Linked DNA regions of Homo sapiens: regions 2, 3, 4 and 5 are each linked to region 1. Evidence: promoter capture Hi-C in 16 types of primary human blood cells and fetal thymus (Javierre and others, 2016). All regions are on one chromosome and are shown on one strand. Each heading gives the region's core, a stretch centred on a gene start or on the middle of the fragment in contact. The rest is flanking DNA. Distances are from core to core; before and after follow the strand shown.

Region 1 (2,700 bases), core at 97-2,596:
TGAGACATATTCCTAACAAAAACAGATCTCTTGCTAACAAAAATTCTCATGTGATTTTCTTAAGAAAAATGTCAAGTGCCACTTATTGGCCCCATTCAATATGCCAGATGTTATATTCAACACTTTATGAACATTATTCCACTTAATCCTTGTAACAATCCTTTGCAGGAGGCAGTGTGTTTTTCCATTTTTAAAAGAAAACTCAAGCTCGGAGAGGTTAAGAGCATATACATGGTAAATGGTGGAAGTGAGGTTTGAATCTAATATTGACACCACAGCCTATGTTCTTAATCACTACCACTGCGCATCAACTACGTTTCTGGCACATGCCGCTGGGGATATGCCAGATACATACTCTTTTGCACCTTGTACAATACCACAGAGAAATGCAAAATAAATAATTTTTAATAGGGCAAAGGGCTCGGTACTCTCAAAAGCAGAAATAGCCCAGAGGGAGGGCTTGAGCCCGTAATTCTAGCACTTTGGGAGACTAGGGTAGGAGTATCCCCTGAGACCAGGAGTTCAAGGTTACAGTGAGCTATGATTGCGCCACTGCACTCACCTGGGTGACAGAGCAAGATTGTCTTAAAAAAAAAAAGTCACATATATACATAGAATATGCAATTAAAATATATTTCATAAACTATCTGCTATGAAATCTGTGCCAGTGTGAGCTTTCTCCAAGTTTTAATTTATGGCTGGCTGTGGATTTAGTCCTGAGTCTAACAAATAACACAACCTAATAATTATTGCCTACTTTGAGGAAGATATTCTTTTGGTTTTTGTTAAGAATAGAGTGAACCATAAAAGATTATATCAGACCTCAAGAGTTTATTATAATTGGGTTATAAGGCATGTGCTCTCGAAAAGTTGTTACATAAATACGAAAAATATACTGTTAAATGACTGGCCCAACTAAATCAGTTCCCAAAGCTGTGCTGGTTAGACAAACCTACAAGGAAATGGTGAAATTTCCAAGGAAATGGTGAAATTTCAGTCCAATTTTGAAGAACAGGTTTTGAAGGGCTGTAGAGAAAGCTGGAAGCACACTCCAAGTGGAACGATAACTTGGAAATATACTGTCTTATTATCACAGGCTGCTCCTGAAAGCCACGCGTCCCCGCTCACCAGCTACCAGCGCTGGGAGACCCCTAACCACCAGGCATTCACAGGTGAGGAAGCCCCTCCCACAGCGGCCGGAGTTTCGGACTCGGAGCGCGAGAAACGTCGGGATAGCGCCTGCCTCGCAGAGCTTCCGCTTCCGGCCCTTCAGGCTCTGTCTCTGTGGAGACTGGGCTTTGGGAGGGAGAAAGAGGGACCTAGCGCGGGCCGCGCAGGCGCACGGTGGGCAGCTGCAATGGCGCTGTCGTGTACCCTTAACAGGTATCTGCTCCTCATGGCGCAGGAGCATCTGGAGTTCCGCCTGCCGGTGAGTCCGTAGCGCCCTCCGGAACTTCCGACGGAAGAGGACGCTGGAGTGGAGTGGAGTGGGTGGAGGTGATCTGCATAGCCCGAGGAAGCTGGGATTCGGGGGTCTTCGCTGGTCTGCGCGGGTCACGCGTCCCCAGTCCTCGGGCGGGGTGAGCTTGGCGGAGGGTGTGTGTGAGAGAAGTCCGAGACCAAACCCCTCGGCCTGCTTAAACTTTTCATTCTTTTGCCCGTGTATCAAGTACCGGAGTTAGGCAGGTGAATATGACCGGTCATCTCACTCCCGGAGCTCTTCGTCTAGCGGAGAATAGAGACAGCTAACAAATGCTCAGGCTGGTGTTTGAAGTATTGGAATCTGCGGATCAAGCTCAGTGGAGGGGATGGTGGTGGGGATTAGATGATGGAGAAGTTGAGAAGAGTGTTTTATTTATTCAAGAAACGTTTTCAGAATGCATGTAGTCGAAGATCGGTACGCTGGGCATGTAACGATGATGTAAGCAATCTCTGCCCTCTAGGAGCTTACTGTTTAGAGTAAGGGCTGAGCAGACACATAGGCGTAGAATGACAAAAGAGCGTCGGTAAGTGCAGTGATAGATGCACATGGAAATATGAGAGCACGTGGAAGGGAAATCTAATCTACCTGAGGGGTTGGGGATGTTGGCCTTTAAGAGGGCTTCCAGAGGAGATGACACTTGAAATAAAGGATGAATAGGAGTTAGAGGGCCAAGGAGATAAATCAGTAAATTAGAATTACAAGGTGTTCATTATTACTGGATCACTAGTTATGTGGCAGAGTGGTAAGAAGAGAGCAAGGGAAGTAGATCGAGGCCAGAAAATGAAAACCTTGAGTACCCTGGAGCTTGGAAGGGGGATTTATTGAAAAGCCTTAAGTAAAAAAGTGACCACAAAATTAAATCAGTTTGACAACACTATGGAGGATGGATTTGAAAAGAATAAGACTTGAGCCAGAGACTAGGAGTCTGTGGGAATAGTCTTGTTAATAGATTAAGAAGGTCTGACCTAGGGCAAGGAGTAAGAGGATGGGATAGACTGGGAAAATATTTAGGCCATACAGTCATTAAGGCTGGATTGATTGAATATGTGGGAAAGGGGCACCAGTCAGGTATGACTCCTGGGGTGTATATAGGTAGGAGTGTCTCCATTTAAAATAGAGAACATAGGCAGATGTAAGATTTAAATTTTGTTTACACTGAATTTGATGTGGTTGTGTAACATCAACCTGAGATGACCAAGAGGCGGTGGATATATGAA
Region 2 (2,700 bases), core at 194-2,693, 650 kb before region 1:
TTCCCCCTCCTCCTTTTCTTTCTTCTTTTTTTTTCCTTGCAATTTTCTGTTGACAAATTGGGCCATTTGTACTGTAGAGTGTCCTGCAGTCTTGATTTTGTTGATTTCATCCATGAAATGTTGTTTAGTGTGTGTTTCTATGTTTCTTATATTTTTCATAGATTGATAGTTAAATCTAGAGCTTATTCAGATTTGTTTTATTTTTTAAGCAAGATTACTTCATAGGTATGTCCATGTTATTTAATTTCAGTTCTCCCTCTCTCTCTCTCTTTCTGTCTTAATCTCTCTTTCTATCCACCCCACCCTCCCACTATGCTAGCCACCATTAATAATTATTTCCTAGATCCATTACTTTATTAATGTTGGCATAATTTTCATCTGACTCTAGAATTCCTTTATCATTTCTTAGCTGGAATAGTTCTGTAAAGGAAAACATCCCCTTATTTGGTTAACTAATGTATAATTCATATAGGAAGAGCTTGACTTTTAAATGCTTGACTCTTTCTGTTTATTCATCAGTTTTCAAAATAATAACTGATTACTGAACATGCTCTGAAGTTATCCATCAGTGTTTTTTTATACCTCATATACTTACGAATATACATATATTTGATGTATTACAGATATTATTTTTAGTAATGTTTAGAATGTCCCATCTTTGGTCAGCAGGAGCTTATTTAAGATGTATTTTGGTATCTTTTGACATGACTTTGATTCTGGTATGACAAGGTGTTCCAGGCTTGTCATACTTTTTTGTTACAGATTTGGAATTGGCCATTTCTCCAGGGAGAACAGGTTATTTTCAGTGGGGCACGGTATTTAGAGATCTCAGTTAAAGCTCTGAGAAAGCTTATTGACACTGGTTTAACCTTTTTTTTTTTTTTTTTGAATTTGCAAGTGGGCAAAATTAGGAAAAGTGTATTTTTTTCTTGCAGATATGTATTTGTTAATATTTTTGCAAAATACAGAGAGTAGTGTCTAATGAGTTCAACTTAGATTCTCAAGTACAAAATATCTGCTGATATAGCAACTTTAAAAAGTTTCATTTTATTGTGGTAGGAACACTTACCAGATCTATCCTCTTAATAGATTTCTAAGTGTACAATACAGTATTACTAACTATAGACACTATGTTGCACAGCAGATCTCTAGAAGTTGTTCATCTTGCATAACTGAAACTCTATATCCATTGGTTAGCAACTCCCCATTTCTTCCTCCCCTCGGCCTCTGGCAACCACTGTTCTACTCTCTACGTCTGTGAGTTTGATTATTTTAGATGCCTTATATAAGTGAAGTCATGCAATATTTGTCCTTCTGTGACTTACTTCACTTAGCATAGTGTCTTCCAGGTTTTTCCATGTTGTCACATATTTCAGCATTTCCTTCTTTTTTAATGCTGAATAATATTCCGTTGTATGCATCTACCACACTTTCTTTATCCTTTTATCCATCAGTGGACATTTAGGTTATTTCTACATCCTGGCTATTGTAAATAGTGTTGCAGTAAACATGGTAGTGCAGATATCTCCTTAAGATCCGAACTTCATTTCTTTTGAATATATACCCAGAAGTGAGATTGCTGGATCATATGGTAGTTCTATTCTCAAATTATTGAGGAACCTTCATACTGTTTTCCGTGGTGGCTATTTTGCATTCCCACCAATAGTGTACAGGGTTTCAAAGTTCTCCACATCCTCACCAACACTGTTGTCTTGTGTTTTTTGGATAATAGCCATCCTAACAGGTGTGAGGTGATATCTCATCATGGTTTTGGGTTGCATTTCCTTGATGATTAGTGATATTGAGCATTTTTCCACATACATGTTGGCCATTTGTATGCCTTTGGAAAAATGTCTGTTAGCGTCCTTTGCCCATTTGTAAATTGGATTATTTGATTTTTTTTATTTTTACCAATGAGTTGCAGTAGTACCTTATATATTTAGGGTATTAACCTCTTATCAGATATATGATTTGTAAATATTTTCTTTTATTCTATAGATTGCCTTTTCATTCTGTTGATTGTTTCCTTTGCTCTGCCAAAGCTTTTGATTTCGCTGTAGTCCTGCTTATCTATTTTTGCTTTTTGTTGTCTGTCTGTCCTTTTGGTGTCATATCCAAGAAATCATTGCCAAGACCAATGTCAAGAAACTTTTCCTATGTTTTGTTCTAGTAGTTTTATCATTCCTGGTCTTACATTTAAGTTTTAATCCATTTTGAGTTGATTTTTGTGTGTGGTTTAAGATAAGGATCTAATTTTGTTTTTTTTGTTTTTTTGTTTTTTTTGTTTTTTTGTTTTTGAGACGGAGTCTCGCTGTGTCTCCCAGGTTGGAGTGCAGTGGCGCGATCTCGGCTCACTGCAAGCTCCGCCTCCCAGGTTCATGCCATTCTCCTGCCTCAGCCTCCCAAGTAGCTGGGACTACAGGCGCCCGCCAACACGCCCAGCTAATTTTTTGTGTTTTTAGTAGAAACGGGGTTTCACTGTGTTAGCCAAGATGGTCTCGATCTCCTGACCTCGTGATCCGCCCGTCTCGGCCTCCCAAAGTGCTAGGATTACAGGCGTGAGCCACCACGCCCGGCCTAATTTTGTTATTTTACATGTGGATATTCAGTTTTCCCAGCACCATTTGTTGAAGAGATTATCTTTTCCTTGTTATATATTCTTTGTACTTTCGTCAAAGGCTAGTTGACTATATATACATG
Region 3 (2,700 bases), core at 166-2,665, 720 kb before region 1:
AAGCTCACTAGCAGGGATGCTGGCATTCTCCCTTATTTGTGCTTCCAGCCTGTTGGTTGAAGTAGAGGCAGGAAACCAACCCTGCCCAGCTGGTTCTCAGGCCGTGCTGGCTCGCCCACCACAGCACACAAGTACTCAGTCTCTGTGCCCAATCTATAGCTGCCTGTTGAGTGTGAAGTGGCTAACTTGTGAAAACTCCCTGCCACCTTCTTTTTTTACCATATTCAGCACACCGCATTGTATTAGATAAAGTTATGGTACTTTAAACAAATATCTCCGTTCACCAACCAATTTCTGCACACCATAGTCTCAGCCTTATAATCTGAAAACACAATATTAGAATTGGATAGAAAAACAATCAAGAAAACTTGTGGTAATATCTTAAAGCTTCCAACACATTTTAGCTATTTATTTTATTCCATTCATCAAAATTCTGATTTCATTAGTTTGGTAAGAATCTTATGCACATCATCTCTATTCATCTAAAAGCTTTTCATTATTCACTCTGACCTAGAAGTGATATTCATAATGGCCATGGCATAAGTAGCATTTTTTATTTTTGTCATAAAATGTGTGTGAATAACTCAGATTAGATAAATCAAACACTTGTTGGTAGGTGGGCAGTCTTACCTAGTTTAGGCAGTGAGCCTACTCTTAGCTTCAGGAGCATCACTAAGAGCTGCCTGGTCCTCCCTCACCATGGGTGTGCAAGATCATCCTGATGGGACTGATTGCTGAGCTTCTCAATTACATCTAGTGAGGCTCAGTTCACAAGCAGTAGTTTAAAGTGTTTCACAAGTCCTAAAAAGTAATTGCACACAATGGACATAACCTTTTACTAACAAACCAAAATGACTTCAGGTCAACACCATGTGTGTATGAAAGGATACCTCCACAGAAAATGTACAGTTGACCCTTGAACAACAGGAGTTTGAACTGTGAGGGTCCACTTATGTGCAGATTTTCTTCTGCCTCTGGCACCCCTTGAAACAGTGATACCAACCTCTCCCCTTCTGCAGCCTACTCAACATGAAGACAATGAGGATAAAGACCTTTATCATCATCTGCTTCCACTTAATGAATAGTACATATATTATCTCTGTTGTTTTTCTTTTAACATTTTGTTTCCAGAGCTTACTTTATTGTAAGAATACCACATGTAATGCATATAACATAAAAATATGTGTTAATTGGCCATTTATGTTATCAACAAGGCTTATGGTCAACAGTAGCTGTTGGTAGTTAGGTTTAGGGGGTGTCCAAAGTTAGAATCAGATTTTTGTTTTATTTATTTATTTATTTTTTTGAGACTGAGTCTCACCCTGTTGCCCAGGTTGGAGTGCAGTGGTGCAATCTTGGCTCACTGCAACCTCTGCCTCCTGGGTTCAAGCAATTCTCTGCCTCAGCCTCCCGAGTAGCTGGGATTACAGGCACCTACCACCACGCCTGGCTAATTTTTGTATTTTTAGTAGAGACAGGATTTTACCATCTTGGCCAGGCTGGTCTTGAACTCCTGACCTTGTGATCCACCTGCCCTGGCCTCCCAAAGTGTTGGGATTACAGGCGTGAGCCACAACTCCCAACCTAGAATCGGATTTTTGACTGTGCAGGCCTAATCCCCGAGTGGCTCAGGCGTCAATTCTTTCAATTATCAAAAATTCTGATGCAATTGTGATTACAAAACAAACTAGCTTTTAAAAAAAGTAAGCCATTCTGAAATTTAACGATTTACCACATTTTAAACACAGTTGCTATGATGAACATATTTGTAAATTTACAGTGCTACTTTATCTCACAACTCACATCACATAAAGATTACAACTATTGGCTGGGCATGGTGGCTCATGCCTGTAATCCCAGAACTTTGGGAGGCCAAGGTGGGTGGATCAACTGAGGTCAGGAGTTCGAGACCAGCCTGGCCAACACGGTGAAACCCCGTCTTTACTAAAAATGCAAAAATTAGCTGTGCTTGATGGCACATCCCTGTAATCCCAGCTACTTGGGAGGCTGAGGTGGGAGAATCTCTCGAACCAGGGAGGCAGAGGCTGCAGTGAGCCGAGATCTTGCCACTGCCTTCCAGCCTGGGTGACAGAGAGATGAGACCCTGTCTCAAAAAAAGATTACAACTATTGGCAGGTCATTTTAGCAATGCAATCTGCATATCTTACTCTAAATTACACATTTTGTTAGAAATCTGTTCTTGAACCATAGCAAACAGAACAAAGTGCATGCTTTAGGATGTGTCTTCATGATATGCCATGCCGTTCACAGTGGCCAGTGTAGAGGGAACCCAGGGATCTACACGGCTCTTCTGTCACTGTTCATTGTTCCAAAATTACGTGTAAGCTTTAAAGTTGTTCAACATCAACCCCATCGTCCTCCTCTCACTTAGTATTCAATTTGAGTGGAAGTAGTGTGATAAAGGAAGATGGTGGTAAGGTTGAAAAGTGACTTAATATGAAATGTGAAACAACTTCTTCAAACCTAGCATTCAAATGTAATTTCAAACTATAACAATATTTGGCAAAATCTTATGGCTACTTTTGATAACTTCTAAGCATGGTAAAATTCTTTATGCTACATTTCTGCTTGACTTTCAGTTCACACCAGAGGGTATATTCATGTACACACACATTATATATATAATATATATAATACATATCCATCCATTATATATATATATAAATTAAAGCAAACCAA
Region 4 (2,700 bases), core at 147-2,646, 700 kb before region 1:
CCATTGTCTCAGCCCCAAAACTCCTTAAGGTGATAAGCAACTTCAGCAAAGCCTCAGGATACAAAATCAATGTGCAAAAATCACAAGCATTCCTATACACCAATAATAGACAAACAGAAAGCCAAATCATGAGCAAACTCTCATTTACAATTGCTAGAAAGAGAATAAAATACCTAGGAATATAACTTACAAGGAATGTGAAGGACCTCTTCAAGGAGAACTACAAACCACTGCTCAAGGAAATAAGAGGACACAAACAAATGGAAAAACATTCCATGCTCATAGATAGGAAGAATCAATATCGTGAAAATGGCCATACTGCCCAAAGTAATTTATATATTCAATGCTATTCCTATTAAGCTACCACTGACTTTCTCCACAGAATTAGAAAAAAACTACTTTAAATTTCATATGGAACCAAAAAAGAGCCCACATAGCCAACACAATCCTAACCAAAAAGAACAAAACTGAAGGCATCACACTACCTGACTTCAAACTATACTACAATTCTATAGTAACCAAAACAGCATGGTACTGGTACCAAAACAGATATATAGACCAATGGAAGAGAACAGAGGCCTCAGAAATAACAACACACACACTTACAACCATCTGATCTTTGACAAACCTGACAAAAAACAAGAAATGGGGAAAGGATTCCCTATTTAATAAATGGGAAAACTGGCTAGTCATATGCAGAAAACTGAAACTGGACCCTTTCCTTACACCTTATACAAAAATTAACTCAAGATGGATTAAAGATTTAAACGTAAGACCTAAAACCATAAAAACCCTAGAAGAAAACCTAGGCAATACCATTCAGGACATAAGCATAGGCAAAGACTTCATGACTAAAATACCAAAAGCAATTGCAACAAAAGCCAAAATTGACAAATGGGATCTAATTAAACTAAAGAGCTTCTGCACAGCAAAAGAAACTATCATCAGAGTGAACAGGCAACCTACAGAATGGGAGAAAATTTCTGCAATCTATCCATCTGACAAAGGGCTAATATCCAGAATCTACCAGGAACTTTACCAAATTTACAAGAAAAAAACAAATAACCCCATCAAAAAGTGGGCAAAGGATATGAACAGACACTTTTCAAAAGAAGACATTTATGTGACCAACAAACATATGAAAAAAAGCTCATTATCACTGGTCATTAGAGAAATGCAAATGAAAACCACAATGAGATACCATCTCACGCCAGTTAGAATGGCAATCATTAAAAAGTCAGGAAACAACAGATGCTGGAGAGGATGTGGAGAAATAGGAATGCTTCTACACTGTTGGTGGGAGTGCAAATTAGTTCAACCACTGTGGAAGACAATGTGACGATTCCTCAAGGATCTAGAACTAGAAATACCATTTGACCCAGCAATCCCATTACCGGGTATACACCCAAAGGATTATAAATCATTCTGCTATAAAGACACATGCACACGTATGTTTAATGGGGCACTATTCACTATAGCAAAGACTTGGAACCAACCCAAATGCCCATCAATGTTAGACTGGAAAAAGAAAATGTGGTACATATACACCATGGAATACTATGAACGCATAAAAAAGAATGAGTTCATATACTTTGCAGGGACATGGATGAAGCTGGAAACCATCATTCTCAGCAAACTAACACAGGAACAGAAAACCAACCACCATATGTTCTCACTCATAAGTGGGAGTGGAACAATGAGAACATACGGGCACAGGGAGGGGAACATCACACACTGGGGCCTGTCGGGGGGTGGGGGGCAAGGGGAGGGATAGCATTAGGAGAAATACCTAATGTAGATGACAGGTTGATGGGTGCAGCAAACCACCATGCCACATGTATACCTAGGTAACAAACCTGCACGTTCTGCACATGTATCCCAGAACTTAAAGTATAAAAAAAAAGAAAAGAAAATGATATAAGACATAGAAGAACAATATAAGAACAGTGAAATGTAAGATAAAAGGTTGTTTTAGAAACTAAGCAATAAGGAACGCAAGGGTACACAAGGAACACAAGGGTAATTAAATATGATAAATAATGCCTTAAGAGAAATAGAAATGGAAAGTTTAAAAGTTGAGCAGAAATGAAGATGATATAAAGAGTTTGAGATAAGGTGACAAATAGTGAAGACAGGCAAAGAAGAACCAACATACAGATACAGAAGAGTCCCAGAAAAAAGAATAGCAAAGCAAAAGGAAAACTATACCTCAAGAAAACCTTAAAATTAAATTAAAAAAAAAATTCAGAGTATATATTGAAAATTCATGCTAAATACCTAAGGATATTAACCCAGAATAAGCAACATGAAGATACATTCTAATAAAATTACCAGACTTAAAAGAAAAAAAATCCTTTGGACACCCACGTAAAAAGAGTATCTGGCATTTAAGGAAAATAAAATTATGATCAGACTTCAACAGCTTCTCCACATTGTCAGAAGTTCAGTCAACTGGAGATACAGTTGGCTTAACAAGTACCCTTTTAAAAATGTCTCTCCCCATCTGTCCCTCAAAGTACAGTTGGGGCTTGATGTAGAGCAATATAAGGATCCCGGGACCTTAAATCTTAAATCTGTTCCATTTTGATATAAATAATCTGATTTAAGATATTCAAGAAAAGAAACTGGGAACAAGGATTTTACATGCAGTGAAACTGACTTTCAAGTATAAAGAACACAGAGAAACTATTAATAACATGC
Region 5 (2,700 bases), core at 21-2,520, 630 kb before region 1:
TGTCTATTATCTTACTTTTTCTTTTTTTTTTTTTTACAGGAGACAGGGCCTCTTTCTGCCCCCCAGTCTGGAGGGCAGTGGAGCAAACTCTTGGGTTCAAGCCATCCTCCTGCCTCAGCTTCCTGAGTAGCTGGGATTACAGGAATGTGCCATAGTACCTGGCATATTCTCTTTTTTTTTAAAAGTTGAGAGGTATTTTTTACAGGTTTGGTGTGGTAACTGTTTGTGTTAACCCATTTTGTACTGCTGTAACAGAATAGAACAGACTGAGTAATTTATAATGAACAAAAATGTATTGGCTCATGGTTCTGGAGGCTGGGAAGTACAAGGTTGAGGGGCTGGCACCTTGCAAGGGCCTTCTTGCTACATCATCCTAGGGAGGAAGGGCAAAGGGTGGGATGAGAGGGAGGGAGACAGAAAGAAAGGGCAGGAGAGAGGGAGAGAGAGAAGGAAAGTGAGAGAGAGAGAGAGAGAAAGAAAAAAGAGAGAGAGAAAGAAAGAGAAAAAAGAGAGAAGAGAGAGAGAGATTGAGAACAGAGAGCCAAACTTATCCTTTTGGAAACCACTTCTGAAATAACAGCATTAATCTATTCATGAGGGCAGGGCCCCCACAGTCTAATTATCTCTTAAAGTTCCCACCTTTCAATACTGTTACAAAGGAAATTAAAATTTAACATAAGTTTGAGAGGGTACAAACATTCAAACCATAGAACCCTACAAAAATCTCACAGACCTAGACTTATTTCTTGCTGTTCTGCCTTCTGTTCTCAAGGTCACAAGAGGGCTGATAGAGCTGTAACTATTCACTTCACGGTGGAAGAAACAATAAGGAAAGAAGATATGATCCTCCTTTCTAAAGTGCCTTCTGGAGGTACTTTCTATTTTCCTCCCATTACCCTGAGCCTCATCATATGGCCAAACCAGAGAGGCCGGGAAATGTAATTTCACAGCTGAACACAGTTAAGTTTCCATTATAAAGAAAGAGAACGAGAAAGGATATTAGAGGCAAGAAGCTGTTCCTGTCACAGTTAGCATTAAAACTAAAGTTAGAGAAGAAAATTTTCTCTTTCATTTAATGTTCTATAAAGCAACATTTATTGATGAACTCACTGTCCTAGACACTAAGGATTCAAAAACCGAAATGACACAGTTCTTGTCTTCAGAATATCACAGTCTAATGGAGAAAATACGTGTTCATGTCCATAGATGATTACATACTAGATGTACCCCTAGATTTTTATGAGAACAAGTAAGATAAACTCCCCACTCAGACAAGGGTGAGGAAAAGGAAGAAGGCTTTATGGAAGTCACAGAAGAAAAATACGGAAAGAAAGTAGACTTTGGTGACAATGTATTGGGCAGAGGTCAAATAAAGATAGAAAATACGTCCATTGGGTTTAATAACAACAGAGGCCTTTAGTGAGCTTGGGGAACACTGTTTCAGGGGAGTGCAGGAAATCAAATCCAGTGGGGCAAAATGTGACTATTAATGATAAAGTTGAGAGGGAAAATACAGAAAAGTCTTTAAGAAATGTAGTTATAAAGAGGAAAAGAGAAGGAAAATGGCAGCTAACAAGGTCTAGGCTAGGGAATGGTTTTTTTAAGGATAAGAAACATATGAGGATACTTCAATACCACCGAGAATGTACAAAAAGAGGGACAGAGACAGATATACAAATAAAGAGAGGAAAGAGAGCAGGTGAGCTTATCCTCTGAAATGGCAGAAATCAAAGTAAAATCTAATGCCAAGGCAAGTGATATCTAAGACAATGATCATAAAACTGAGACGTATCTGAAGATAATCTCTATGTTTTCTGTGAAGTAGAAGTCCCAGTTCTGACATAGCAGTAGAGTCAGGGAGAAGAGTGATACATGCAAAAGAGTGATATGCTTTACATTAGCCATTACTAGCAATAAGAAAGACAGGGATGGGTGAAGAAAAGAAAGAAGAGTAGGAAGTAGGAAAGGGCATGCATATTATGAAAATCTTTTCTCTCACCTCTGTCCCCAGTCCCCACCACAGAGGCAATTACTGTCACTAATTTATTGTGTATTTTTCCAGAGGTATTCTATTCCAATACAAGCAAATATCTATATTTATCCCTTTTTACATTTTTACATATGGTGCATACCATACACATTTACCTTGTTTTGGATAATTTAAATATACATAGGTATACTGCTACTCTCCCAATCCCTGAGATACCATCATTAACTCCTCCCTATCTACAAACAAGATGATCATGTCAGAGATGTTAACTGTCTTGCTCAAGATTCTTAGCTGACAAATAAGTAGTGAAGCAGGAAAAACAGATTCCACCATTATATCCATATAATAGATCTGTATTACATTTGGAACTGTTCTCTCAACCAGAAATTAAATCTAAGAGAAAAATACACTTGGAAATTTAACCTCAGAGTGAGTGACTTGAATGCTCCAACTATGCTGTCATCATCATGAAATATTCTACTGCTGTGTTCTATTACTGTTTTGAAACTGTGTCAAAGACCAATTGATAGATAGTCCAGTCAGAAGATCTCAGCTGTGTATGGATATCAAGAGGCACTTAGCTCTAGGAAGGTAGCCTTCTTATGCCTCTTACAGAATTTCTCTCTCCAATTTAGTTGGAGACACAGTGGCCCTGCCTGCCAATTTTAGATCACTCTCCCGCTACAATTTACATAATTTACATTTTAACC

Evidence for each region. Contacts are between HindIII fragments. The CHiCAGO score rates a contact against its expected background, and 5 or more counts as called.
Region 2: a contact is called between a fragment that was not itself captured here and the fragment with the promoter of TRMT11 in region 1, in 3 of 17 cell types (naive B cells, total B cells and naive CD8 T cells). The highest score is 8.6, in naive B cells.
Region 3: a fragment that was not itself captured here is called in contact with the fragment with the promoter of TRMT11 in region 1 in 2 of 17 cell types (naive B cells and non-activated CD4 T cells); the score reaches 5.7 in naive B cells.
Region 4: a fragment that was not itself captured here is called in contact with the fragment with the promoter of TRMT11 in region 1 in 2 of 17 cell types (naive CD8 T cells and activated CD4 T cells); the score reaches 6.7 in naive CD8 T cells.
Region 5: a contact is called between a fragment that was not itself captured here and the fragment with the promoter of TRMT11 in region 1, in 1 of 17 cell types (total B cells). The highest score is 6.9, in total B cells.

Annotation. Positions count from the first base shown.
Region 1 is chr6:125,985,194-125,987,893 of GRCh38, forward strand. TRMT11 (tRNA methyltransferase 11) reads left to right here and starts at 1,347. Exons shown (of 13, transcript NM_001031712.3): 1 at 1,347-1,429. The coding sequence starts at 1,358. RefSeq lists enhancers at 570-1,400, 1,378-1,867, 1,401-2,230. The HindIII fragment of the contact is 7,229 bases long and covers 1-2,700 here.
Region 2 is chr6:125,331,837-125,334,536 of GRCh38, forward strand. No RefSeq gene overlaps it. Among named protein-coding and RNA genes, the nearest start is that of HDDC2, 31 kb to the left of the region's middle. The HindIII fragment of the contact is 1,193 bases long and covers 848-2,040 here.
Region 3 is chr6:125,264,552-125,267,251 of GRCh38, forward strand. No RefSeq gene overlaps it. Among named protein-coding and RNA genes, the nearest start is that of HDDC2, 36 kb to the right of the region's middle. The HindIII fragment of the contact is 1,857 bases long and covers 488-2,344 here.
Region 4 is chr6:125,283,417-125,286,116 of GRCh38, forward strand. The region is part of intron 4 of HDDC2 (HD domain containing 2); the gene reads right to left. Among named protein-coding and RNA genes, the nearest start is that of HDDC2, 17 kb to the right of the region's middle. The HindIII fragment of the contact is 4,794 bases long and covers 1-2,700 here.
Region 5 is chr6:125,352,108-125,354,807 of GRCh38, forward strand. It overlaps LOC107986640 (a long non-coding RNA gene), which reads left to right. Exons shown (of 3, transcript XR_001744328.3): 3 at 40-2,700. Among named protein-coding and RNA genes, the nearest start is that of HDDC2, 51 kb to the left of the region's middle. The HindIII fragment of the contact is 9,886 bases long and covers 1-2,700 here.